Linked DNA regions of Homo sapiens: regions 1, 2, 4 and 5 are each linked to region 3. Evidence: promoter capture Hi-C in 16 types of primary human blood cells and fetal thymus (Javierre and others, 2016). All regions are on one chromosome and are shown on one strand. The core of a region is centred on a gene start or on the middle of the fragment in contact, and the rest is flanking DNA. Distances in the headings are between cores, read along the strand shown. Region 1 overlaps SPAG9 (sperm associated antigen 9). Region 2 overlaps SPAG9 (sperm associated antigen 9). Region 3 holds the start of NME1 (NME/NM23 nucleoside diphosphate kinase 1). Region 4 overlaps UTP18 (UTP18 small subunit processome component). Region 5 overlaps SPAG9 (sperm associated antigen 9).

Region 1 (6,061 bases), core at 3,547-6,046, 73 kb after region 3:
TAAGATAAGAATTTCTGGGCTGGGTGCGGTGGCTTACGCCTGTAATCCCAGCTCGGCCTCCCAAAGTGCTGGGTTCACCTGAGGTCAGGAGTTGGAGACCAGCCTTGCCAACAAGGTGAAACCACATCTCTATTAAAAATACCAAAATTAGCCAGGCATGGTGGCTCATGCCTGTAATCCTAGCTACTCGGGAGGCTGAGACACGAGAATTGCTTGAACCTGGGAGGTGGAGGCTGCAGTGAGCCAAGATCATGCCACTGCACTCCAGCCTGGGCAACAGAGCCAGACTCCATCTCAAAAAAAATAAATAAATAAAAAGCAAAATAGTGGTAAAATTTTTTGTTAGCAGTTTGATAGCACAGCATCTTAAGTGTTACTTGGTAAACATAATGCTGTATGTTCTTTAAAACAGCATTTTATCCGTAACACAAGAGGTGCCTAATATAAGAATTTCTGGACTGGGTGCAGTGACTCACACCTGTAATCCCAGCACTTTGGGAGGCCAAGACAGGCAGATCGCTTGAGGTCAGGAGTTCGAGACCATCCTGGCCAACATGGTGAAACCCCGTCTCTACTAAAAATACAAAAAAATTAGCTGGGCGTGGTAGCCCATGCCTGTAGTCCCAGCTACGCAGAGGCTGAGGCAGGAGTATTGCTTGGAGGCAGGAGTATTGCTTGAAGCCAGGAGATGGAGGTTGCAGTTAGCTGAGATGGCACCACTGCACTCCAGCCTGGGTGACAGAGCAAGACTCCATCTCCAAAAAAAAAATTTTTTTTTTGGTTACTTTCCCAGATATAGTAGTTAAGTTAGCCAAGGGAGCATCATTTTCAAAGCAGGCCAAAAAATAATTACATTTTCCTATTAATTCTTAGTCTTTGCTTATATATCAAGGCAAAATGTTGAAATAACTTACTCAGACTTCATAGTTTCTGCTTTTCTATTTAACGTAACCTTACATCATCTGCTTGCATTCAGTTCTAGCCAATGAACACTTGGAAGGCAGGGCTAGTTGGATACTCATAGTCATGTTCCCTGTGCCTGGTACATAGTAAGTAGTCAGTAGATGTTTCTTGAATGAATGAATGATTTATTAGTTTGCCTCTTTTCCTATATTTACTGTAACCTTTACTTTTCCTATATATGGTCATCTTGAATATTCTGAAAAATAAACAGTGACTTGATTTCCCCAGAAGTCCCACAAATATGAAATGTTTTCATAGAAAAGTATAGCGAAGAGGTGCTAAACTTGGGGTTTGTGGAAGGAACTACAGTGTCTCTAAGCCCTCTGAGAAAAATAGGTGGCATTTGACATGGGCGGGGGCGTTTTTTCTGGGGAAATATGGTTCATAGATGGATCAAATTTCCAAATTGGTCTTTGGACCCCCTAATGATTAAGAACCAATGTTATAGGGTTTGTAGTTTTCAGGCTTCAAAGATCAGGAAAGTTAAACATGGTGGCTCACACATGTAGTTCCAGCTACTCTGGAGGCTGAGGCAGGAGGGTTGCTTGAGCCCAGGAGTCTGAGGCCAGCAGTTCAGCAGTTGTAGACCAGCCTGACAACATAGTGAGACCTACATCTTAAATAAATAAATAAATAAATAAATAAATAAATAAATAAAATAAAGAGGCTGTGTGTGGTGGCTCACGCTTGTAATTCCAGCACTTTGGGAGGCCGAGGTGGGTGGATCACTTGAGGTCAGGAGTTCGAGACTGGCCCGGCCAACATGGTGAAACCCCGTCTCTACCAAAAATATACAAAAATTAGCCGGGTGCGGTGGCAGGCACCTGTAATCCCAGCTGTGCGGGAAGCTGAGGCAGGAGAATCACTTGAACTCGGGAGCCAGAGGTTACAGTGAGCTGAGATGGTACCAGCGCACTCCAGCCTGGGGGACACAGCGAAACTCAGTCTCAAAAAAGAAAAAAAAAAAAAAGAAAAAAGAAAAACCAACTCAAGCTTATGTAAAAAAGGAATTTATTGGATTTTGTAACTGAAAAGAACAAAACACACTGGGAAAATTCTGGCTCCAGGAATCCTGGGTACAAATAGTATCTTTAATTAAAGTTTTTCTCCCCTTTGCTCTTTTTCTCTATATTGGCTTTAGTCTCAGGCCTGCTCTTCTCTATGCTGGAAAAAGATGTCAGTCTGCAGCCTAGGCCTGCTAGGTTTTTAGAGTTTAAGAACTGGCAGATGTCCCAGAGAGGACATCTCAGTTTGGTTCAAATCATGTGCCCACCCCTAGGGAGTTGGGGTCATCACCAATCAAATTACATGGACTGAATATACTTAGCATGAAACTGGAGAGAGAAAGTTCCCCAAAGGAACGTAATGTGTGTAGACAAAAAAACAAAAACAAAAACCCATGTCCTCTGCAGTGATTGAAAAGTTTGAGGACAGTTAATATAGGTAATAGACTGACAATTTCATGTTAAAACTAGGATATATTGTAGTGATACCTAAGTTTTTTGTGAATTATAAATTTTTCTATAAGGGTTTCAGTTTTTTTAACTTGGAAAATTTTCTTCATTTATTCATTTGTTTAACAAATATTTGAGAACCTGCTATGTGCTGCTATCATCATTCTTTGTACTGGGTATACAGCAGTGAACAAAACAAAAATCCCTGACTTCATGGAACCCACATTCTAGTGAGGACAGACAAGTAATAAGTAACATTAATTACTAAAATAGCATGTTGGATGAGGTTAAGTACTCTAAAGAAAATAAACAGGGAGGAGAGATAGGGAGTAGGTATCACAGGTTTTTTTTTTTTTTTTTTTTTTTTTTTGAGACAGTCTTGCTCTGTTGCCCAGGCCAGAATGCACTGCAGTGGCACAATCTAGGCTGACTGCAACCTCCATCTCCTGGGTTCAAGCAATTCTCCTGCCTCAGCCTCCCGAGTAGCTGGGATTACAGGCGTGCACCACCATGCCTGGCTAATTTTTGTATTTAGTAGAGATGGGGTTTCACCATGTTGGCCAGGCTGGTCTCAAACTCCTGACCTTAAGTGATCCACCTGTCTTGGCCTCCCAAAGTGCTAGGATTACAGGCGTGAGCCACCATGCCTGGCCTGGTATCACAGTTTTAAATAGGTTGGCCAAAGAAGCCTTCACCAAGAAGGTGAGATTTGAACAAAGATGTGAAGGAAGTAAGTAGAGAGCAAGCTGTTTGGATATCTGGAAGAAGAGAATTCTAGGTAGTAGGAAGCAAGTGCTGAGGCTTGAAGTGTTTGAGGAACTGCATGGATGCTTGAATCAGAGAATGGGAAGGAGAAGAGGGTAGGAAGAGAAGTAGGGGATGATGTCAAAGAAGTAAGAGAATGGTGGAAGCATGTTGTGTAGATCCTTAGAGGCTATGGTAAAGAATTTAAACCACTAGAGCGTTTTAAGCAGAGGATAAATTGTTTTTACTTTTTTTTTTTTTGAGACAGAGGTTTGCTCTTGTTGCTCAGGCTGGAGTGCAATGGCGTGATCTCAGCTCACCGCAACCTCTGCCTCCCGAGTTCAAGCAATTCTCCTGCCTCAGCCTCCCAAATAGCTGGGATTACAGGCATGCGCCCCAGACCCAGCTAATTTTATATTTTTAGTAGAGACGGGGTTTCTCCATGTTGGTCAGGCTGGTCTCGAACTCCTGACCTCAGGTGATCTGCTCGCCTCAGCCTCCCAAAGTGCTGGGATTACAGGCATGAGTCACTGCTCCTGGCCTGCTTTTTTTTGAGAGGGGGTCTTGTTCTGTCGCCCAGGCTGGAGTTTAGTGGCGTGATCTCAGCTTACTGTAACCTCCGTCTCCTGGGTTCAAGCGATTCTCCTGCCTCAGCCTCCTCAGTAACTGGGATTACAGGAGCCTGCCACCACGCCCAGCTAATTTTTGTGTTTTTAGTAGAGACCGAATTTCACCATGTTGGACAGGCTGGCTGGCTGACTTTTTAAAGAATCCTCCTAGATCCTCTAGAATATATTGTAGAGGATTAGGGTGGAAGTAAGAAGACTAATTAGGAGACTTTCACTGTTGCAGTAATCCAGGCATTAGATGATTGTGGCACACACCAGGATGGTGGTGGAAATGATGAAAAGCGGTCAGATCTGAAGGTAGATTTGCTGATGGATTGGATATGTGAGGTACTAGAGAAACAGAAGAGTCAAAGCTGACTCCAGAGTTTTGGTCCTGAGTAACTGACCACAGTAATTTAATGAGCTAGAGAAGACCAGGAGAGGAGCAAGTTTTCACATGCTAAATTTAAGAATTTAAGATGCTTTTTTTTTTTTTTTTTTTTTTTTTTGAGATAGAGTCTTGCTCTGTAGCCCAGGCTGGAGTGCAGTGGTGCGATCTCGGCTCACTGCAACTTCCACCTCCCGGGTCCCGGTTCAAGCAACTCTCCTTCCTTAGCCTCCCAAGTGGCTGGGATTACAGGAACGTGCCACCATGCCCAGCTAATTTTTGTATTTTTAGTGGAGACAGGGTTTCAGCATGTTGGCCAGGTTGGTCTTGAACTCCTGACCTTGTGATCTGCTCTCCTCAGCCTCGCAAAGTGCTAGGATTACAGGCGTGAGCCACCACACCCAGCCTTAAGATGCTTTTTAAACATCCAATTGAAGTTTTCTAGTAGGCAGTTGGACATACAAATCTGGAATTCAGGTCTGGGCTAGAGATAGAAATTCAGAAGTTGTCAGCATATAGTTCGTACTTAACGCCATGAAACTGGACGCGATCACTAGGGAATAAGTGTAAACAAGGAAGAGAAGATGTGTCCAAGGACGGAGCATGCCAATGTTAAGAAGTTGGGGAGAAAAGGAGGTACTACCAAAGAAGACCAAGAACGAGCAGCAAACAAGAAAACATCCTGGTAGCCAAATTAAAAAAAAAAAAAAAAAGTTTTAAGGAGAGCGGATCACTTGTCAGATGTTGCTGATACAACAATCAAGATGAAGACTGAGATTTAATGATTGCACTTAGTGTTACTATCCTTGATGAGAACAGGTTTGGTAAGTTAGATTTGAGTGGTGGAGTTATTCCTAGGACATGTCCTTTTCTTAGGAATTTAAACTCCATGGTTCAGGTGAATCTATGACTATTAATCACACAACCATTTAACAAATATTTATTGATTATTCCATCATTCTTTTGTTCTCTATTGTACATGTTATAGATTTTTAAGTTGTCTGGAAGTCAAGATGCATATGCAAGTATACAAAAGGGTTTATATATTTGTAGTAAGATATGTATATCATATGGAATGCCTATAACATGAAGTGGAAACAATTATTTTGTTATTTTTTTCTTCTATATTTGGGAGTTTTTTAAACTTAATTTTTATAGAAAAACTAAAAATCAACCCAAGGTCATAATTCTGAGATCTAAGTAGTTAATACCTAATTGTGATTATTGATTCCAAGAAATAACAGGAGTTGAAAATGTAAAGTTTAATTTCTCTGATTAAATTTATATTGTTCTTCTTTATTAGAAATTCATTGAATTTGAAGACTCTCAAGAACAGGAAAAAAAGGACTTACAGACCCGAGTGGAATCTTTAGAATCTCAAACAAGACAACTTGAGCTGAAAGCGAAAAACTATGCTGACCAGAGTAAGTAAAACATTTCTTCTCATAAGTACACTAAAGATTGGGCTTGGCCAGACGTGGTGGCTCACGCCTGTAATCCCAGCACTTTGGGAGGCCGAGGTAGGAGGATCACTTGGGTTCAGGAGTTCAAGACCAGCCTGGTCAACATGGTGAAACCTCGTCTCTACTAAAAATACAAAAATTAGCTGAGCATGGTTGTGCATGACTGTAATCCCAGCTACTTAGGAGGCTGAGGCACGAGAACCATTTGAATCCGGGAGGCAGAGGCTGCAGTGAGCCAAGATGGTGCCACTGCACTCCAGCTTGAGCAACAGAATGAAACTGTGTCCCCCCACCCCCCAGAAAAAAAAAAAAAGGAATTGGCTCTAATGGTGCAATGACTCATCCTGAAATTCGACTAAGGTTCTAAATACAAACTTGGAATTGTCATCCCAGACTCAAGAGTGAGACCTAGGACCTAGGGTTAGTTCTTTTTTATTCACA
Region 2 (5,711 bases), core at 1,067-3,566, 110 kb after region 3:
ACATTGTAACCTAGAGCATCATTGACCCACTTGACAGATAGCTGTCAGTCTCTGAAGAGATCTCCCCTCCCTGTAGAGTAGTTTCTGAATGATTGATACAAGCAAATTAAAAAGGTGGGAATTCTATTTGCAATTTGGGTTGTAGATTTTGTTGACTGTTGATTGTAGATTTTGTCAACTGATTTTGTTTACTTTTTGGAAAGTAAAATTTGGATTCATAGAAGACTCCCTCCCCCAATAGTTTTAAACTTTTTCAATATTTGTTATGTGTGAAAATGAATGGCTTATATTTTGATTTCTATTAGTGTGAGGGAGTCTTATGAAGTCTGTATATCATCTTCCTGGTTGTCTTTGCATTTTGAGTTAGAGAGCTTTCCATTATATTCAGTCATTAAATTCCCAGTCACCTTTTGCTTAACTCATTAAGGTATGTTAGAAAATAAATAAAAGTCAGCTAGTAGCTCTTAGTCCCCTTGGATTTTCGGTTCACAAAATATGGGGGGAAAACATCAGATTGACAACTTTTTATTTTGTCCAGAATGAATATGAAAAGGAAATCTAGCTACTTATCACTGTCACCATCATTTAATGAAAGAAAGGGCATTTTAAAATCAAAGAAGAAGAAAAGATGTAATTTAAAATAAGGGTCAGTCATTTTCAAGAAAGAACAGGGTTCTATAGTATATGGGAATGTGTATGTGTACAATAGGTACTATATTATCTATGCACTAAGGAAATAATAAATAACGCCTCTTTTTTCATGGACTTATTATAAAAACTTTGTTGCTGAACAGCATTTGGGAATAACTGGTGTAAACATGGTAGCTGACTAGTCACTTTAATTTTTGTCATTTGGTTGTCCCGGCAGCTCATAGTCGCAAACTTAGATTTGGTGTTAAAATTTACCCTCTTGGCCAGGTGTGGTGGCTCACACCTGTAATCCTAGCACTTTGGGAGGCCGAAGCAGGCAGATCATGTGAGGTCAGGAGTTCAAGACCAGCCTGGCCAACATGGTGAAACCTTGTCTCTACTACAAATACAAAAATTAGCCAGACGTGGTGGTAATGCCTGTAATCCCAGCTACTTGGGAGGCTGAGGCAGGAGAATTGCTTGAACCTGGGAGGCAGAGCTTGCAGTGAGCCGAGATCGTCCCACTGTACTTCAGTCTGGGCAACACAGCAAGACACAAACAAACAAAAACTACCCTCTTATTGTACTGCCTTCCTGCTTTTGAATTTTCCCCCTAAATCAAAGTTCTGTTTTTAAATTTTATTTCCTTGTGCATACAACTTTGACTAAATGTAGTCTCTCAACCCCTTTGCTTCACCTCATTTTTAAGAAGGCATTGGGATAGTTTTACTAGTCCTTTTAGATTGTTAGGAATGGAAGAACACACCCTTTGTATTAAGTGAAGACACATTTCAAAAGTGGCTGAAGTTTCTTGGAATAAAAATGAACTACAGAATTAAAGACTTACTTAGCAAAACTGAAATTTTCCCACTTTAATTAATGAGCTCATTGTTTTTATTCTAACTTACATTCTTACCAGTAGAGGTAGGAATTCCAGGAGGCACCAAACCTTTAGTGTATCATTTCTTTCTAGTTTCTACACTTTTGAGTTAATGACCCAGGATGACCCGTTAGTAGGCTTGTTTCCACCCTCTAAAAGCTCTTCGATTTGGAATCTTGTGTGCATCAACAAAGGATGTGTTTCTCGTTGAAATTCTGTTAGTATTAAAATTGTAACTCTTGTTCATTGAAACTTCTCACAAAGCATTGGAAATTCAGTAATCTTTTATAGAATTATTTGACCTTCTTATTTGGAAAAAACCGACAATGGTTTTCTCATATGTACTGTGCTTGAAAGGAACTCATATAGTGGTTCTGTAGAAAAACAGAGCTTTCTTACTTGGGTGGTGGGGAGAAAGATATTTTGAGTTCTTTTCATCATTTAATAGGTAGCCCTGATTTAGATAATATATTGATTTTCCTCTAGGCAGGAAAGTCATACCCTGAAGAAGCTTCAGTAAACATCCAGGGATTAGCGAGAGGATTTGGGAAGAAATGGGTTGGATTCACTTCCAAAGAAGGAGGTTGCAAGTTCCCTAGGGCTAAGCTACGTATGGTTAAAAACCCAGCAGCAGCTCTTCTCCAGACCACACTAGACCACTGACTGCTTCTTGGGCAAGGAACTCGTCAGTAACTTTTAAGATTTCCTTAACCCTTCTTACCACTTTTCTTAGTTGATTTCTTGAGGCTAATTTCCTGAGGCTAACTAAACTGAGACTGTCCTTCCTCTTTGGTAAGTCTGTTTTATTCAGATGGGCAGACAGTGTCATTTTTGAGTGATGGTTGTAAAACAGTGGCAGTCCAGGCTTATTACTTATAGTCATGGCAAATAAAAAGTCAAAATAAATGAATGCCGAATTTTTTCTCCCCTCTTCAAATAGAAAAGAACGCCCTATATCATTAGGAATTTTCCCATTACCTGCTGGAGATGGATTGCTTACACCTGATGCTCAGAAAGGAGGAGAGACCCCTGGATCTGAGCAATGGAAATTTCAGGAATTAAGTCAACCACGTTCTCATACCAGCCTGAAGGTAAGCTTTATGCTGCTGAAATTGTGTCAGTTTATATTTCATAAACTTTCTTATCCTAATTGAAGTGCTAGACGACCACAGTATAGTAAAATGTAATTGTTTGTATACATTTAGTTTGTAAAATTGGTTTTTTAAATTGGAAATGAGCTCTTACCAAAGAGTGTGTTTTTTACTATTTTATTTCAAATTATATAGGAAAAAAAGTGAAGCATTATATCATCTTGATTAGTATACTAATGACAAAAATTAATTTCTATTTGATTTAGGCTATATGAGTTTAGAGTAGGGTAACTAGTGAACCTAATTATATTAGAATTGAAAATCGCTATTACCAGAAAGTCTTGGTTCATGTTAGAGGCTTTCCAATTTAGTAGGGTTTCACTTACAGAAAAACAAAACAAAACAAACACACTGTTCCTTCTTTAAAACCGCTTCATAGAGCAGTCTACAAAAATGCATTATGTTTAGCTAAAAAGGCGTGGTGTAAATTAATTATAGATATGTTCTTGACCAAGAACTTGTCATCAAATAAGTGATAAATATAAACAATAATATATGCTGAGTGGATATAAGCTAATAATTAACTTTTAAGAATATTTGAAGTTCTGTATCTTTTAAAATGAAATATTCATCATATTGATTATAAAAGATCTTTTGTTACCTTATAAAATCAACTCATCATGAAACAGGCCACCTGCAATGAGTAGAAATGAGTTACATGTATCTTATTTCCTTTTCCTGCTTTATTTTTCTCCATAATACTTATCATGGTCTAAGCATGTAAAGATAGCTCTTAACAATGCTTCTAAAATACTGTCATTTACTGTATTTAGTTGCCTCTAGACTCTTCCCTAAGAACATAAATTCTATGAGGTTTATTTACTGCTGTATCCCCCAGCACTTGGAAAAGTGCCTAGCACATTATAGGTACTCAGAACATGTTTGTTGAGTGAATGATTTGTTTTAGATGTTAGAAGGAATCTTTGGGGACAATATAAGTGGTCTTTCTCTCAACTCTAGAATGTAGAGGCATTCAGAATCATTCTATTGACCTTTGAAATGTGCTCAAAACAGTAAGCAGTTGATAAATATTTGATAGCTTTTCTCCCACTGAAAATCATTTTTAACAATAGGGGTTACCTTACCTTTTCTCCCTTCTTGCCCCAATTTGTTAGAAGCTAATAGTGCTCAGTATTAGCCCACAGTGATGTTACTGGGCAACTCGCTCGCTCTCACTTTTTTTTTTTTTTTTTTGAGACAGAGTCTTGCTGTGTCGCTCAGGCTGGAGTGCAGTGGTGAGATCTCAGCTCATTTCAACCTTGGCTCACTGCATCCTCCTCCTGGGTTCAAGCAATTCTCCTGTCTCAGCTTCCCAAGTAGCTGGGATTACAGCACCCACCACCACACCTGGCTAATTTTTGTATTTTTAATAGAGACAGAGTTTCACCATGTTGGTCAGGCTGACCTCGAACTCCTGACCTCAGGTGATCCACCCGCCTCAGCCTCCCAAAGTGCTGGAATTACAGGCGTGAGCCACTGCGCCTGGCTGCAACTCTCTCTTTCTTTACTTCTGTACCACAATGGGTCTTTTAGCCTTCCTGCAGGTTTAATAGATTTTCCAAAACACTCATCTCTCAATTGCCTACTTGCTGTGTGTGCTTTCCCAAAACAAAAGTAGGAGGGATACTTTTAGTACAAAAAAAAGTATCCCATATGGTAACTATATTTTAATACTACCCAAAAGTGCGCCTTAAGAGATTATTATAATTCTCTTTATTTTTTACTCCACTGATAGGCTATGCCAGAACTTTATTGACAACTTATAAACCGATTAACAAATTATTAGTATAGACTTAAGCAGAGGAGTTTCTCGTGTCCTCCCTAGAGGAGGACTTGCCTTAGTATAAGGCAGGTACTCACCAGAGAGTTTCTAAAACAAAACCCTGTCTCTCTCTACTTGGTCTGGAACTGGAGCCACCGAATGAGATAAAGACTCAATGAATAAGGATTTCCAGGAATGGGGTGGTGCTTACAAAATGGCAAAAGTCTAGTTTGTAAATCATGTTACTAGTTGGGATGTACAGTATTTTATTTTTCACCTAAGCCCTTGTCGTTCACTAGATAACTTTCTACTTTACCAGGGCTGGAAGTCAGGGGTTTAGGATTCACTTGTGGGCTATGCCACAGGTATGTCACATGCCCTGTCATTTTGGTTTCTGTGTATAACAGGAATTGGACTAGACTCTAATTTAAAATATCATTTCCCCTGAGATTGAGGATGACCTAGCCATCTTAGGGCATGTTTTGACTTCATTATGAAAAAATGGAAGGTGTAAATTTATAATTAATGTTAGTGTTACTACCACAATTTTTCTGTGAAGTAAGGTTAAGGTGAAAATTTCCTGTGAGAGAACGACAGAAAACTTTGTGGCAGAATAGCAGCAGATAAGGGGATTTGCCAGTGATTGTAAAGTTATGGGCCTTCTTTGTTGGTGTATTACAAATTTCTCACTGTGAGAGACCTGTGGTGAGTGAGGTTGTAAATAATCTAATAGATTTTCTAGGAATGATGCACCTAGAAAAATGTACAAGTTCTTAAAAAGAAATATTTGTACATATTCTTGATTTATCACAATCTCATGGAGATCGACAAACAAGTAAACAAATAAATGAAATAATAGAACTTCAAGTATTGTTAAAGCAAGGTAAGCTAAAGAGTAATTAGTAAGGATGGGTACTCATTTTAGGGTATGAGAGAAAGCCTCTGGAAGATGACTTTCATCCTGACATGGGGATGTGCAGGTGCATGGAAAGGTCTGGAGGAGTACGTGTTGAGGAAGATGAGATGGCAATTGTGAAGGCCCTGAAGTGGGGAAGCACTTCAGCATGTTTAAGTGGTGGTTTTCTCTTCATCACACTCAGACTTTCAGTCCTACCTACTGCACCAACATGCCTTCTGTCAAGGGTGCCAAAAGAATCCATCGTTCCAAATATAATGGAAAATTCTCAGTCCTCATCTTACCTTTTAGTAGCATTTATATATTTCAATATATTCAGCTTCTTGAAATACTTCCTTCAGTTTTCTTCCAGGATTCCCCATGGCAAACACA
Region 3 (5,265 bases), core at 2,301-4,800:
CAAACTAAATTTTAAAATGCACTAGAAGGGTCCAAAATTGATTCCCTTTTAGAAAACATACTATCCCCTATTTGATTTGAGAATTGGAATTCTTTTTTTTTTTTTGAGACAGAGTCTCCCTCCCTCTGTTGCCCAGGCTGCAGTGTGGTGCAATATCGGCTCACTGAAACCTCCGCCTCCTGGGTTCAAAAGCAATTCTTTTTTTTTTTTTTTTTTGGAGATGGAGTTTTGCTCTTGTTGCACAGGCTGGAGTGCAATGATGCGATCTCGGTCACTGCAACCTCCACCTCCCCAGTTCAAGCGATTCTCCTGTCTCAGCCTCCCGAGTAGCTGGGATTACAGGCGCATGCCACCACGCCTGGCTAATTTTTGTATTTTTAGTAGAGACGGGGTTTCATCATATTGGTCAGGCTGTCTCGAACTCCTGACCTCAGGTGATCCGCCCGCCTCAGCCTCCCAAAATGCTAGGATTACAGGTATGAGCCACCGCACCTGGCTGGTTCAAGCAATTCTTATGTCTCAGCCTGCCGAATAGCTGGGATTACAGGCACCCACCCTGATGCCCAGCTAATTTTTGTATTTTTAGTAGAGACGGGGTTTCACAATGTTGGCCAGGCTGGTCTTGAACTCCTGACCTCAAGTGACCAGCCTGCCTTGGCTTCCCAAAGTGCTGGGATTACAGGTATGAGCCACTATGCCTCACCCAGCCGAGAATTTGGATTATCTCTAGAATTTGTTTGAAGAAGGGTTATTGGTCAATCAATCCTTTGCATTTATCAAAAGATTGCTTTGTAAGTAGCTTGCAGGTACATCTGCTCTCTGCTGTTTCTGAAGAACCTCCCCAAAACCAAAACCATAGTTTTCCTCCACCAGCTCCTATGATACCTAATATATGCTAAACAATAAGCATTTATTAGTGTCTAGTAATTGATGATGGAAAGACTTTCTTGCTAAAAAACAACCTGTCTCAAAGGGGGAAAAAAATCTCTCTAAAATTATCTGCTCAGGAAGCTCAAGACCAAGAACTCAAACATGCTCAGCTCTCAGTCAGAAATTACAGAGATGCAGTCATATGTGGAACTCTGCACTGCTTTTCCCGTAGCAATGCACCTCCTATTACAGAGACTATTTTGGAAAATCCTAAATAACTTGGTTTGTTCCAAGATGTAGCCAAACGCTAGGGCACTGAGGAGTTTCCAGGTCTCAAGACACTTGTGTTCACTCTACCGTGGAGAACTTTAAATAAGAAAGACGGGGAGAAACAGGTTAATCACAGTGTTCTCCTATACTATGAAGGAATCAAAATGGGAACAATGAAGTCCACTTACTTGCATGAATTTCAGACCAACAAGGCGGAATCCTTTCTGCTCAAAACGCTTGATAATCTCTCCCACAAGACCCCGCTGGACCCCATCTGGTTTGATCGCAATGAAGGTACGCTCACAGTTGGCCATGGTTCTGGGGATAGGCAGGTAGAGGAATGAAACAGCAGTGAATCACTTGCCTACAGCGTCATCCGTCTCAAGCGGATTATCCCATAAAGCTGGTTTAAATCTGTCAGGTCAGCTCCAGGTCTCCCTCTGGTAAAAACCCAATTCCTCCCCAGTCCCCTGATCTATGAACTAATATGTCAATGTGGGAAAGGATCCAAAAGCAAGGACTATAATTTCTATCCCATTTGATTTATTTTATTTTCATTTGTTTTGGTTTTTGTGGGGTTTTTTTAGAGATGGGGTTTCGCTATGTTGCCCACGCTGGTCTCGAACTCTTGTCCTCAAGTGATCTGCCCACCTCAGCCTACCAAAGTGCTGGGATTATGGCCATGAGCCACCACACCCAGCCCCATTTGATTTTTTTTTTTTTTTTTGGTATGGAGTCTTGCTCTTTCGCCCAGGATGGAGTGCAGTGGTGCGACCTTGGCTCACTGCAACCTCCACTTCCCAGGCAAGCAATTCTCCTACCTCAACCTCCTAAATAGCTGGGACTACAGGTGCGTGCCACCACACCCAGCTAATTTCTGTATTTTTTTTTACTAGAGATGGGGTTTCACCATGTTGGCCAGGCTGGTCTCCAACTCCTGACCTCAAGTAATCTGCCCACCTCAGCCTCCCAAAGTGCTGGGATTAAAGGCGTGAGCCCCATGAGCCTGGCCACCATTTGATTTAATAAGCTTCTTTTAAACATCTACTGTGTACCAAACACTGCGGTGGAACTAGGATACAGGATGTTAAAAACAAGGCACTATCTTTCTCAATAATCAAGCTTGGGAGAAACTACACTGATGAAAAGTTTTACTAATGTGAAAGTGATGTCCGGTACAAAGCAGTAAGAAATAATAGTTTGACTTAATGCCACAGCCATAGCATTAGGGGTTTTAGAGAATATATCTTTACAACCCCCTTCATTTTACAAATGAGGAAACAGGACCACAGCACCAGAATGAAGGCCAAAACCCAGCATTCCCAACCCATTAATCCATTCTTGTAATGTTATGCTACACTTTACAATGCAAAGAATATTTTGACTAGCCAATAAACGGTGGGGTGTGGGAGAACTACAGACATTAGGAATATCTGATACGGGACATCATACTGAAAGGAAGCCTAGAGAGTAACTATTCCGTCCAGATCCCTCATTTTACAGAAGACTGCGCTCATGACCTACCCTGTATCACAGCTTGAGATAGGAGGCCCCTCGCCTTGAAAGACGATCCCTAAAGTAGACAGTAGCACCATCTCTTGGCCCCATCTTCCTGTCCTTTAGTTAACCTCTTCTTACAGCATCTTAGCACTGTAGTCCAATTTTCTGTTTGTGTGTCTGCCTCCCCTGCACACCAGGCTGACTTAGTCCTGTGTAGAGACTCTATGGTACCTAGCCACAGGGCCTAGCAGTCAATAGGAGCAAAGAAAATCATTTATCACCATTCTGCAACTTCCAAAAAAAAAAAAAGAGAGAGAGACAAAGCCCAAAGACTGCGGAGAATCGCACGATGGGGTGCGGGGCAAGCATAAATTGTCCAGGAGAAAACAGGACTAAAGCGCCAGAAATACACCCTAAAAATGTCCCTCCACATCGGTCCCGGTGACACAACAGTAAGCACTCAGTGCTTGCTGAATGAATGACACACACACCCGTCATTTATTCAGCAAGCACTTACAGAGCGCCAACTCCGTGCCCGGCACTGCTCTCGACAGACACAAATAAGGCACAGCCCTGTCGTCGCGGCCTGACGAGAAAGGCGGCCACCGACAAAGGCGAGTCCACGTGGCGTGGGACGTGCGCCGACCGGTCTGCACTTGTCCACAGGCGCTCCCTGCCCCTCCTCCCATCCGATCCTCCTCGCCGCCTCTTAGAGCTGAACTCATCTCTTCACTAACTCCTCACCTAACCCACTCCCGCGACTACACTCCTTTCTTTTTCCTCTCAGGATCCCGAACACCTCTTACCCTTCCAGCTGCTTAGGTTTGAACTCCGGCTGCAGCCGCCAGCACCCGAAACGCGCCCGGGACCCACGTGGTTCGCAGCACTTGCACGCACGGAACGCTTCTGCGCAGATCCGCTGCCGGAGAGCCCATTTTGCAGAACACCGCTCGCCCACGCTTCCTCTTGGGAGTAGGCAGTCATTCTAGGGAACAACTTTCTGCAGTTTAACTTCCGGCGCTAGCTTTTTCAGACCTTTCCGGTTAGCTGCTTGCTTTCTTCTCTCCACCCCCGGGTTCTCTGACTCACTTCCTTCGTTCGCGAGCAAATTGGCTTCCCGAGAGGTGGCGCTCACACGTTGCGTGAAGTCCAAAGAGTGCCTGACCTAGAAGTAGACTTTTCGCTCCCGCTTTGTGTTTATTCACCTTTTCTAGCCTGTCAAGCAAAAAATTTTGAGTACCTACTACGTGGACGCATTATTCTAGGCCCTAGGGATAAAACAGTATGCTCTCTTGGAGCTTCTGGGAGGGATGGGAGTATAGGAAAACAAGAAGCAAATAAGCAAATTAATATGTAATAGATCGCATTTTGTAAGTGCTGTGAAGAAAAGGCCAGAGAAATCTCTGAGTAAGTGATAATAGAATAGACCTGCATGAAGTGAGGGAGCCAGCCCAGTGATTCTTCGAGAGCCAAGTATTACGGTGGACATCGAGTGGTGGAAAATGCCGTTAGAATAGAGCCAAATCTTATGTTGTGAGATGCTAATACAGATTTTGCACAAGGCATGACATCATCACTAACAAAAAAACATTCCCACTGCTCTAAGGGGAAATGAACGGGGGAAAGGTACAAAAATGGAATCAGGAGCCGTTTCAACAAATGATGCTGGAGCAATTGGACGAATATAGACCCAAAGAACCTCAACCTAAACCTCTCACCTTATACAAAATTTACTCAAAATGAATCATAGATTTAAATGTAAAACAATAAATCACTTATGGGGAAAAAAAAAGTTAAAAAAAATCCTCAGGACCTAGGGCCAGGCAAATAGTTTTTAGACGACACCAAAAGACCAATCTATACAGGGAAAAAGTTGATAAATTGGAACTTACTGAAATTTAAAACTTTTGGCCGAGCGCGGTGGCTCACGCCTGTAATCCCAGCACGCTGGAAAGCAGCGGCGGGAGGATCACTTGAGCTCAGGAATTCGAGACCAGCCCGGGCAACATAGTGAAACCCCGTCTCTACTAAACATACAAAAATGAGCCGGGCGTGGTTGCAGGCGCCTGTAGTCCCAGCTACTCGGGAGGCTGAGGCAGGAGAATCGCTTGAACCCGGGAGGCAGAGGTTGCAGTGAGCCGAGATTGCGCCAGGGCACTCCAGCCTGGGTGACAGAGCGAGACTCGGTCTCAAAAAAATAAAAAATAAATAAAATAAATAAGTAAAATTTCATTATTCTCCTGTTTTCTTTTTTTTCTTTTTGAGACCGAGTATCGCTTTGGCGCCCAGGCCGGAGCGCAGTTGCACGATGTCGGTTCATTGCAAACTCCGCCATCCGGGTTCAAGCGATTCTCGTGACTCAGCTTCCCGCGTAGCTGGGACTACAGGCGTCTGCCACCACGCCCGGTATTTTCTTTTTCTTTTTTTTTTTTTTTTTTTGAGACGGAGCCTTGCCAGGTCGCCCAGGGTGGAGTGCAGTGGTGCGATCTCGGCTCACTGCAACCTCCGCCTCCCGGGTTCAAGCGAATCTCCTGCCCCAGCCTCCCGAGCAGCTGGGATTACAGGTGCCCACCACCACACCCGGCTACTTTTTGTATTTTTAGGAGAGACGGGGTTTCACCATGT
Region 4 (5,231 bases), core at 1,026-3,525, 120 kb before region 3:
CAAGTTAAATTTTTATGGTAACTACAACTTTTTTTTTTTTTTTTTGAGACTGGGTTTCACTCTTGTTGCCCAGGCTGGAGGGCAATGGCGTAATCTCGACTCACCACAACCTCTGCCTGTTGGGTTCAAGTGATTCTCCTGCCTCAGCCTCCCAAGTAGCTGGGATTACAGACATGTGCCACCACACCCAGCTAATTTTGTATTTTCAGTAGAGATGAGGTTTCCCCATGTTGGTCACGCTGGTCTCAAACTCCCAACCTCAGGTGATCTGCCCGCCTCGGCCTCCCAAAGTGCTGGGATTACAGGCGTGAGCCACTGCGCCCGGCCATGTGGTAACTACATTTTTAATGGAGGTGAATTCACCCGTAAAGAGCTAAATGAATTGTCCTCATAAGGTGCAAGACAAAATCACTGTATCTAATTTATCATAATAGTTTCCCCTGCCCCATTTAAATACTCCTGCCATGGTGTAATAAGAAAAGAGACCTATGTCGCTGGGCGCGGTGGCTCACGCCTGTAATCCCAGCACGTTGGGAGCTGAGGCGGGCAGATCACCTGAGGTCAGGAGTTCGAGACCAGCCTGACTAACATGGAGAAACCCTGTCTCTACCAAAAAAACAAAAACAAAAAAAAATTAGCCAGGCATGGTGGTGCATGCCTGTAATCCCAGCTACTTGCGTGGCTGAGGCAGGAGAATTGCTTGAACCCGGGAGGCGGAGGTTGCAGTGAGCCGAGATCACGCCCTTGCACTCCAGCCTGAGCAAAAGAGCAAAACTCTGTCTCAAAAAAACAAACAAACAAACAAAAGATATCTATGTCACAGAGAGATCTGTTAATATGACAGATATTTAACTAAAGTACTGCCCGTTAGTATGACAGATATTTAACTAAAGTACTGTGCTACATAGGCAGCTGGTTACCATAATGAACATGCTAGACATAGTGATGAGTTAGAAAGTGAATAGTGTAGACCACTTTAGAGAAAGTCTTGTCTAAGGTGCCATTTGAGCAGAAAGGTAAGAATGAGCTAGCCATTAGGACTTCCTGAAGACAAGGCAGGCAGAACAAAAGAGAAAGAGCAAAGGTTCACAGGCAAGAAAGGACCTAGCAGCATGTCCAAGAAACAGAAAAAGGCTTGTGTGACTCAAGTGGGAAATCATGGGAAACAGGTCTGATATGAGGCTAAGGATCCAGGCAAAAGCCAGACTGTAAAGGGCAGTGTAGAATACGATAAGGAATTCAGAAGTTTTCAAAAAGCAATGAAAAGTGACATGACCTGATGTTTTATTTTTAAAAGATCCCTCTGGCTGCCATACAAAGAATGATTTAAAAAGAGGTAAAGTAGAAGTAAAGAGTCCAGTCACAAAGCTACTGCAATATGCCAGATAAGAGATGACAGCAGTATGAACTAGGCTGATGCCAATGAAAATGAAGATAAACCAAACGGGATTCCTAGAATTACTGGAAAATTTATTTATTTATTTATTTATTTATTTATTTATTATTTTAGAGACAGGGTCTCGCTTTCACCCGGGCTAAAGTACAGTGGTTCCATCACAGCTCACCGTAGCTTCAAACTCCTGAGCTCAAGCAATAGGAACATAATACCTCTAGAACATTTTTTGCAAAAGGAAAAAAAAAAAACAATAACATAAGTATTTACCAGGGCAAAATGACAGCAAACATATTTAACCCCACAGATAATAGGAATCCATACATCTGCTACTGGGAAGCAAATTAAACTGCAGAGGTAAGTAGTTAGATAGGATCCCCCAACTTCACTGACTCTCACCTTCAAGATTCCTCTTGGAAGAGAAGTTGATGTGGATATGAAATTCCCAGTCCTTTGCAACAAATCATCTTCATCCTCTTCACTTTCATCTAAGTCAAACAAACCCAGAAGGCTGATCTTTAGAATCAATGAGCTGCCCCTTTTACCTACCCCAAACTTCTATGAATATATTTTCAACATCAACTCCCTTTCCAGCCTCCCTACCTCAATTGCTTTTTTTAAAGCTGCAACTGGCAAAAGCAAAACAGGAAAAAAAAAAAAAAAATTTTAAAGGAGAAGAAAAAGATGACACAAAGCTTAACATCCATAGTTAAAATCAAAGTTTAACTCTAGAATGAAAGACTAACACATACACAGATGGTTACTAAAACAAGATGAAGTGAAATAAAAGTTTAAAGCCAGCATTTCATTTAAAAAGAGCAACTCATAATTATGGCAAAATTGGCAACAGGTTGGCTACTGATCTAGTTTAACAACTCACATGAATAAAAACCAGAACTTTTAGCTGAATGATCAATGTCAGCAATCTATGTATCAGAACTTCAAAAAGAGCAAATAGGGCTGCTTTTCCCCCTGGAGATGACTGATGATTCCAGTGGAGACAGCTAAGAAGCTGAGCAAACTTAAAACACTTGCGGAGCTAAGAAGGGAAAAACTAGCTCTAAGCTTCTTGACAGGGTCTGGTAAGCCACCAGATTTTGGATTGCGGCCACAAAGGGCTACCACTAGGATTAAAGACGAAATCAAAGAATTATAAGAAAATCTTCCCAAAACTGAAATTCTGCTTCACAATTCCTCATTAAAATAAAACGTTCTGGGATTACTAGTGTCCTCTGCCAAGCTACCTACCTAGAAGTAAACATATAAACCATCATCCTAGATCTAATTAATCTACATTATTTTTCATATGCAATGTCCACCACTCAATGAAATATAACCAGGCAAATATTGACAAGATAACTTGACTAAAAACCACAAGGAAAAACAGACAATCCCCACAGGGATCTAAACAACGGAATTATCAGACACAAACCTTAAAAATACTATGTTCAGGCCAGGCGCGGTGGCTCACATCTGTAATCCCAGCACTTTGCGAGGCCGAGGTGAGTGGATCACCTGAGGTCAGGAGTCAGAGATCAACCTGGCCAACATGGAGAAACCCCGTCTCTACTAAAAATACAAAAATTAACTGGGCATGATGGCTTATGTCTGTAATCCCAGCTACTTGGGAGGCTGAAGCAAGAGAATCACTTGAACCCAGGAGGCAGAGGTTGCAGTGAGCTGAGATTGCGCCACTGCACTCCAGCCTGGGCAACAGAATAAGACTCTGTCTCAAAAAAACACAAACAACAACAACAAAAAAAACTATGTTTAATATATTTAAGAATGAAAGACAAGATTCAAAATTGAGCCAGAAATGTAGAATATTTGAAAAAGAAATTCTAGAGCTGAAAAATACGTAATTAAAAGTAAGCCCCCAATAGGCCAGGCATGGTGGCTCATATCTGTAATTCCAGTACTTTGGGAGGCCGAGGCAAGTGGATCACTTGAGGTCAGGAGTTCGAGACCAGCCTGACCAAAATGGTGAAACCCCGTGTCTACTAAAAATACAAAAATTAGCCAGGCATGGTAGTGCACACCTGTAATCCCAGCTACTTGGGTGGCTGAGGCAGGAGAATCATTTGAACTCAGGAGGCAGAGGTCGCAGTGAGTGGAGGTAGTGCCACTGCACTCCAGCCTACACGACAGAGCAAGACTAACTCAAAAAATAATAACAAATAAAATTAAATTAAGCCTCCAATAGATGTTTTTAACAGTACATCAAAATTAGCTGTAGAGAGAATTTGTGGTCTAGAAAACGAATCAGAAAAATATACCCAGACTGAAGTACAGAAAGAAAAAGGATAAAAAACACTGAATACCAATGTGGGCAACATAATAAGATCCTGTCACTACAAAAAAAAATTTTTTTTTTCATTAGCTGGGCATGGTGGCACATGCCTGTAGTCCTAGCTACTCCAGAGGCTGAGGTGGGAGGATTGCTTGAACCCAGGAGGTCGAGACTACAGTGAGCCAAGATCACGTCACTGCACTCCAGACTGGGCGATAGAGTGAGACCCTGTCTCAAAAAAAAACCAAACCAAAAAATAGGTGGAAGACATTTAATATACGTATTACTAATAATCTAGAAAGGAAGACTGGAACAGAAACAATACTTGAAGACAGGTGAGAATTTCCAAAACTTACAGAAGACATCAAGCCAGTTCAAAAGTACTATGAAGTCTAAGCAAAATACAAAGCAAGCTAAAATGATAGGGAGAGGGGATAAACAAAGAGCAACACAATACAACAATTCATAATATTAATGAATTGCTGTTGATTTTTGGAGCTGTGGTTATGTTCAAAAGGGAGAATTTTCTTATAACGAAACTCAGTAAATATTTACAGATAAAAATAACACACTGGAGATAATCATGAAGCTGAGTGCTAGTCACCATTCTGTCAACAATAAGTATACCTTCAACAAGTCACTATCTCTTTGAACCTCTCTCATGTACAAAATGAATGTGTTAGACAAGCATATCCCATACTGTAGCAGACTAATTGCTGACTTAATCCACTTCCTTTTTCTCCTGTGCACAAAGCCAAACTACACTTCCTAGGATCCTCTCAGCTAGTGTGGCCTTATGACTGAGTTCCAGCCAACAAAATGTAGGCAAAAGTATCCTGTACCATTTCCAGGAAAGGCCAATAAAAATCCCCTCTTTCTCCTCCTATAAGCCAAGTGGATGTCAACATCTTAGGCAACTCTGGAAGAACCAACCTGAAGATGACAGAACTTCTATAAACTTGGGTCCCTAAAGTAAACCATCACCTTCCTACCACCCCAATTTTATGTGCTGAAAAAACCAACTTCAATTGGATTATGCCACTGGGATCTGTGGGATTTTGTTTCAACAGCTAGCATAACCATACCCAAAATTACAGGAATCTAAAATGTTGTGGGGTTCTATAAATGCAGCATTCTGAAATGGATAATAAAATTATGTTTCATCCAGGAGGGCAAACTGGTGATCTAGGGTCTAGAAGTACGCCACCAAAAAAATGGTCAAAATAACGAGGGATGTTTAACATATTAAAAAACAAACATGGAAAGAGGCTTCCCAAATGAGAGAAAAAGAAGATAATCTATATGTTTCAAACCGTAGGAGTAGAGACTTGTTGGGACATACATTTCAAAATAGGAAAAACTGTCTAACAGTTCTTAAAGAAAAGGGAAGAAGGGGAAAAAACAGTTTAGTAAAAAGTACATTATTTAGGCCAGGCACAGTGGCTCATGCCTGTAATCCCAACACTTTGGAAGGCCAAGAGTTCAAGACCAGCCTGGCCAACACGGTGAAACCCCGATTCTACTAAAAATACAAAAATTAGCCAGGTG
Region 5 (5,249 bases), core at 1,885-4,384, 92 kb after region 3:
ACCTAGCATAAAGGTTCATTCATGTTGTAGCATGTGTCAGTACTTCCTTCCTTTTCATAACCGGATAATATTGTTTTATGGGATACCCTCCACCCCCATTTCAATTGCCTATATATCCTGCTAGAGCTAGAAACAACCAAAACTCTAACTTTGCTATCTGAAAGTCTGTAGTAATACAGTTTTGAAGAGCTGAGTATAATGAACAACCACTTTGGGAAGATATTCCTTGGGTTTCCTCTTGGCATCTTGACTTGTTTAGTTCCTCATAAATGGGTAAGTAGATAACTTAATGTTTGAACCATCTTTACAATGCTGTGGTTGCCTACTAGGAGTAGGTAGTATATTAGTCATCTTGTTTTATTTGTATAATTAGCTATCAGTGACACATCTGAATATAACTAAGCAGAATGATAAACCTTCTGTTTAATTTTAATGGGAAAGATAAATGAATTAGTTAAGGGCCTTAAGTAAGTAGACTGAGGTGAACAGGCTCTCATTTACTCCTCTACTGGAGTGGAGAGGAAGATGGAAGTGGATATGATACTTATGCTAGAGGATAATACTTAACGTCTAATTTATGTAGATATTTTAACCCTTTTATTTTTTGTCTGCTTTTATTTTATTTTTTTAAAATTCCATTTTATTATTATTTTTTACTTACTTACTTACTTACTTATTTATTTATTTATTTTTGAGATGGAGTCTGGCTCTGTTGCCCAGGCTGGAGTGCAGTGGCACGATCTTGGCTCACTGCAACCTCCACCTCCCAGGTTCAAGCAGTTCTCCTGCCTCAGCCTCCCAAGTAGCTGGGATTACAGGCATGTGCCACCACACCTGGCTAATTTTTGTTTTTAGTAGAGAAGAGATTTCACCATGTTGGCCAGGCTGGTCTCCAACTCCTGACCTCAGGTGATCCACCCACCTTGGTCTCCCAAAGTGCTGGGATTACAGGTGTGAGCCACTACAACTGGCCCTGGCCTGCTTTTATTTTAGATGTTGCAAAATTCAGTATTTTTCCTGTTATTTAACAGGTTACAGACAAAATACATTTATATGAAAAGCTGAGACAGAGGTTAATTTAAGTATACTTTATGATTTATTTTGTATCAAAAACTTAGCGAAAAGATAGACGTGGTCAGCATACAATTTTTTTTTTTTTTTTTGAGATGTAGTCTCGCCCTGTGGCCCAGGCTGGAGTGCGGTGGCACAGTCTTGGCTCACTGCAACCTCCACCTCCCAGGTTCAAACGATCCTCCTGCCTCAGCCTCCCAAGTAGCTGAGATTACAGGCATGCACCACCACGCCCAGCTAAATTTTTTTGTATTTTTTGTAGAGATGGGGTTTCGCCATGTTGGCCAGGCTGGTCTTGAACTCCTGACCTCAGGTGATACGCCTGCCTCGGCTTCCCAAAGTACTGGGATTACAGGCGTGAGCCACTGTGCCCGGCCAGCATACAAGTTTCTAATATGTAACAGTAAGTTGAAAATATCTTAAAATACCACTTTTTGTGCATTAAAAACATGAAATTTTGTGTGTGAAAGAGATAGTAAAAGTTTGAGACCTGTAATTTTAAGACCTTTAGCTCTTATGAAAATAACAGGCATAAACTATGGTAATCTAGACAATGGAATATTAGTCAGTGCTAAAAAGAAATAAACTGTTTGTCCAGGAAAAGACGTGGAGTAGGTTGTGTGTGGTGGCTCACGCCTGTAATCCCAGCACTTTGAGAGGCGGAGGCAGGTGGATCTCCTGAGGTCAGGAGTTCGAGACCAGCCTGGCCAACATGGCGAAACCCTGTGTCTACTAAAATACAAAAATTAGCCAGGCATGGTGGTGGGTGCCTGTAGTCCCAGCTACTCAGAAGGCTGAGGCACGAGAATTGCTCGAACCTGGCAGGCGGAGGTTGCAGTGAGCTGAGATCATGCCACTACACTCCAGCCTGGGTGAAAGAGCAAGACTCTGTCTCAAAAACAAACAAAAAAAAGATATGGAGTAACCTCAAATGCATATTACTAAGTGAAAGAAGCCAATCTGAAAAGGCTAGGTACTATATGATTCCCACTATGTGACATTCTGGAAAAGGCAAAACTATGGAGACAGTAAAAAGATCATTGATTGCCAAGGTTTGGGAGATGGTAGGGAGGGATGAATAGGTGGAGCACAGGATTTTTAAGGCAGTGAACTTATTTTGTTTGATACTATAATGGTGGTCACATGTCATATTTTTGTCAAAAGCTGTAGAGTATACAACACCACGAGTGTACCCTAATGTAATTGATATATTTTGGGTGATAAGCATGTGTCAGTGTAGGTTCATCGATTGTAAAAGGTATACCACTCTGATTCTGGATGTTGATGGTAGGGGAGGTTGCGTGTGTAGGGGGCTGCAAATACATGGAAATTCTCTGTACTTTCATTCAATTTTGCTGTGACCCTAAAACGGCTCTAAAAATAAAGTCTATTAAAAATTAAAAGGGACAAGTCATCTGTAACTCCAGGTAGTTTGCATGTGCTAAATGCCCTTTTTCTGTGATAAATGGTTGCTATTAAATAAAAAAATATAGATATGTATGTATATTATTTATATGAGATTAGTAAATATAACCATTTCACCTTTTGAAAGAGATGGTTAGAGAATGGATTGATAGTTTATCAAATGTTATTTCTGAGGTGAAAGTAAGACTGTGTTGCCAAATGGAAGTAAATTTAGCAAAAAGTAACCCTGATGGGTTAGAAAGCTGTGAATGGAGGCTGAAGGAATTAATGATAGAAATAATTCAAAATGCTTAAGGAGAACAAAATGATTACTAGAACTTTAAGGAATTTTTATGGATGAACCTAAGCTTATGTGAACAATGGTCATATTCATTTAGATAAATATTGGAAATCTCCCAAAATTAATGGTATATTCTGTTATATGTCTCCTTCCCACAAGCCTTTTTTTTTTTTTTTTTTTTTTTTTGGAGACAGAGCTTTCGCTCTTGTTGCCCAGACTAGAGTGCAATGTTGTGATCTCACCTCACTGCAACCTCCACCTCCCAGGTTAAAGTGATTCTCCTGCCTCAGCCTTCTGAGTAGCTAGGATTACAGGCGTGCACCACCATGCCCAGCTAATTTTTGTAGTATTAGTAGAGGGGTTTCACCATGTTGGCCAGGCTGGTCTCGAACTGCTGACCTCAGGTGATCAGCCCGCCTTGGCCTCCCACAGTGCTGGGATTACAAGTTTGAGCCACCGCTCCTGGCCTAATCTCACTATTAAGTGGTGTACATTTGACACAAAGCAATGCAAACAAATTGATTAGGAAACTGGCATAAAATCAGTCAGGACCTGACTTTGTTTTGTGGCATTATAATGTTTTGTTCTGTAAGGTATAAACCCAGCTCTCTGACCAAGTCAGTTGACAAACATCTTATATAAAAGCTTCTCTCGGTGGGGCGCGGTGGCTTACGCCTGTAATCCTAGCACTTTGGGAGGCCGAGGTGGGTGGATCACGAGGTCAGGAGATCGAGACCATCCTGACCAACATGGTGAAACCCCATCTCTACTAAAAATACAAAAATTAGCTGGATGTGGTGGTGCACGCCTATAGTCCCAGCTACTCAGGGAGGCTGAGGCAGGAGAATCGCTTCAACCAGGGAGGTGGAGGTTGCAGTGAGCTGAGATCGCACCATTGCACTCCAGCCTGGGGACAGAGTGAGACTCTGTCTCAAGGAAAAAAAAAAAAAACAAAAAAAACCCTTTTCTCTGAGGTTTGCTTAATGGTATAAGTCAGCTAGGGCCGCCATAACAAAATATTACAGACTGGGTGGCTTCAATAGCAGAAATTTATTTCTCACAGTCTGGAGGCTGGAAATCTGAGATCCATGGTACAAGCAGATTTGGTTTCTCCTGAGGCCTTTCTCCTTGGCTTGCAGGTGGCTGCTTTACCTCTGTGTCCTAATATGGCCTTTTGCCTATCTCTTGCTGTTATAAGGATACCAGCCCTGTTGGATCAGGGCCCCACCTTAATGACCTCATTCAACCTTAATTACCTACCTTCTTCTGCCTTTTTTTTTTTTTTTTTTTTTTAAAAAGACAAAGTCCCGCTCTGTCACCGAGGCTGGAGTGCAGTGGTACAGTCTCAGCTCACGGCAACCTCCATCTCCCAGATTCAAGCGATCCTCCTGCCTCAGCCTCCCGAGTAGCTGGGATTACTGCTATTTGCCATGACGCCTGGCTAATTTTTGTATTTTTAGTAGAAACAGGGTTTCACCATGTTGGCCAGGCTGGTCTCGAACTCTTGCCCAGGTAATCCACCTGCCTCGGCCTCCCAAAGTGCTGGGATTACAGGTGTGAGCCACCTCGCCCGGCCCTTAATTATCTTCTTAAAGGCCCTATCCCCCAAATGCAGTCATATTGGGAGGTAGAGCTTCAACCTATGAATTTGGGGGGTGAGGGAGCACAATTCAGTCCATAATAGGTCAGGAGATAAGAGTTCTCTGTGGGGATGGGAAGCAAAGAGTGTTGTGACTTGACAATCAGATCCAGAAAAGTCTTACAGACCATTGTAAGAATTTTTTTTTCCTTTTAAAAATGAGATCGGAAGCTTTGAAGTTTTGAGCGGTTAGTCACTGTTTGATTCCATCTCTATTTTGAGAATGTAGGGAACAAAGACTAAGTAGAGAAACTAGTCAGGAGACTAGGATTATTATTGTAATAACCTAAGCAAGAGATGATGTCTTGGGTCAAAGTGAGAGTGATGAAGGTGGTAAAAGTGGTGAGATTCTGGTTTTTGGTTTGTTTGTTTGTTTGTTTGTTTGTTTTTTGAGATGGAGTCACACTCTGTCGCCAGGCTGGAGTTGCAGTGGCGCAATCTTGTCTCACTGCAACCTCTGCCTCACTGCAACCTCTGCCTCCTGGGTTCAAGCGATTCTCCTGCCTCAGCCTCCCAAGTAGCTGGAATTATAGGCATGCACCACCACGCCCAGCTAGTTTTTGTATTTTTAGTAGAGATGGGGTTTCACCATGTTGGCCAGGCTGTTCTCGAACTTCTGACCTTGTGATCCGCCCACCTCGGCTCTCAAAGTGCTGGGATTACAGGCGTGACCCACCAAATTTTCTTTATCCAGTCTATTCGGTAACATTTTTGTTCTCTCCCTGAGAATGCTACAGTCAGAGCAATAAAGCTTGTTTGTTATGGTTCTGAATAGTTTGTTTAAATCCCATTCTACATGTTGAACTCATAGCCATTGTAGGATAACATAAGGAA

What was found. Contacts are between HindIII fragments. The CHiCAGO score rates a contact against its expected background, and 5 or more counts as called.
Region 1: a fragment that was not itself captured here is called in contact with the fragment with the promoter of NME1 in region 3 in 5 of 17 cell types (M2 macrophages, M0 macrophages, monocytes and 2 more); the score reaches 11.9 in M2 macrophages.
Region 2: a contact is called between a fragment that was not itself captured here and the fragment with the promoter of NME1 in region 3, in 16 of 17 cell types (M2 macrophages, M1 macrophages, M0 macrophages and 13 more). The highest score is 26.4, in M2 macrophages.
Region 4: a contact is called between a fragment that was not itself captured here and the fragment with the promoter of NME1 in region 3, in 1 of 17 cell types (M1 macrophages). The highest score is 5.4, in M1 macrophages.
Region 5: a fragment that was not itself captured here is called in contact with the fragment with the promoter of NME1 in region 3 in 4 of 17 cell types (M2 macrophages, M1 macrophages, M0 macrophages and 1 more); the score reaches 10.4 in M2 macrophages.

Annotation. Positions count from the first base shown.
Region 1 is chr17:51,079,104-51,085,164 of GRCh38, reverse strand. SPAG9 (sperm associated antigen 9) reads left to right here. Exons shown (of 30, transcript NM_001130528.3): 2 at 5,461-5,581. Among named protein-coding and RNA genes, the nearest start is that of SPAG9, 39 kb to the left of the region's middle. The HindIII fragment of the contact is 5,676 bases long and covers 1,959-6,061 here.
Region 2 is chr17:51,038,391-51,044,101 of GRCh38, reverse strand. It overlaps SPAG9 (sperm associated antigen 9), which reads left to right. Exons shown (of 30, transcript NM_001130528.3): 5 at 2,451-2,601. Among named protein-coding and RNA genes, the nearest start is that of SPAG9, 80 kb to the left of the region's middle. The HindIII fragment of the contact is 585 bases long and covers 2,024-2,608 here.
Region 3 is chr17:51,151,844-51,157,108 of GRCh38, reverse strand. It overlaps NME1 (NME/NM23 nucleoside diphosphate kinase 1), which reads right to left and starts at 3,550. Exons shown (of 5, transcript NM_000269.3): 1 at 3,447-3,550; 2 at 1,329-1,458. The coding sequence starts at 1,454. NME1-NME2 (NME1-NME2 readthrough) reads right to left here and starts at 3,550. Exons shown (of 9, transcript NR_037149.2): 1 at 3,447-3,550; 2 at 2,665-2,884; 3 at 1,329-1,458. RefSeq lists enhancers at 1,352-1,883, 3,280-3,699, 3,483-4,014, 3,038-4,237. The HindIII fragment of the contact is 18,411 bases long and covers 2,265-5,265 here.
Region 4 is chr17:51,270,012-51,275,242 of GRCh38, reverse strand. It overlaps UTP18 (UTP18 small subunit processome component), which reads right to left. Exons shown (of 14, transcript NM_016001.3): 5 at 1,793-1,881. Among named protein-coding and RNA genes, the nearest start is that of UTP18, 12 kb to the right of the region's middle. The HindIII fragment of the contact is 370 bases long and covers 2,091-2,460 here.
Region 5 is chr17:51,059,326-51,064,574 of GRCh38, reverse strand. All of the region lies in intron 2 of SPAG9 (sperm associated antigen 9), which reads left to right. Among named protein-coding and RNA genes, the nearest start is that of SPAG9, 59 kb to the left of the region's middle. The HindIII fragment of the contact is 578 bases long and covers 2,846-3,423 here.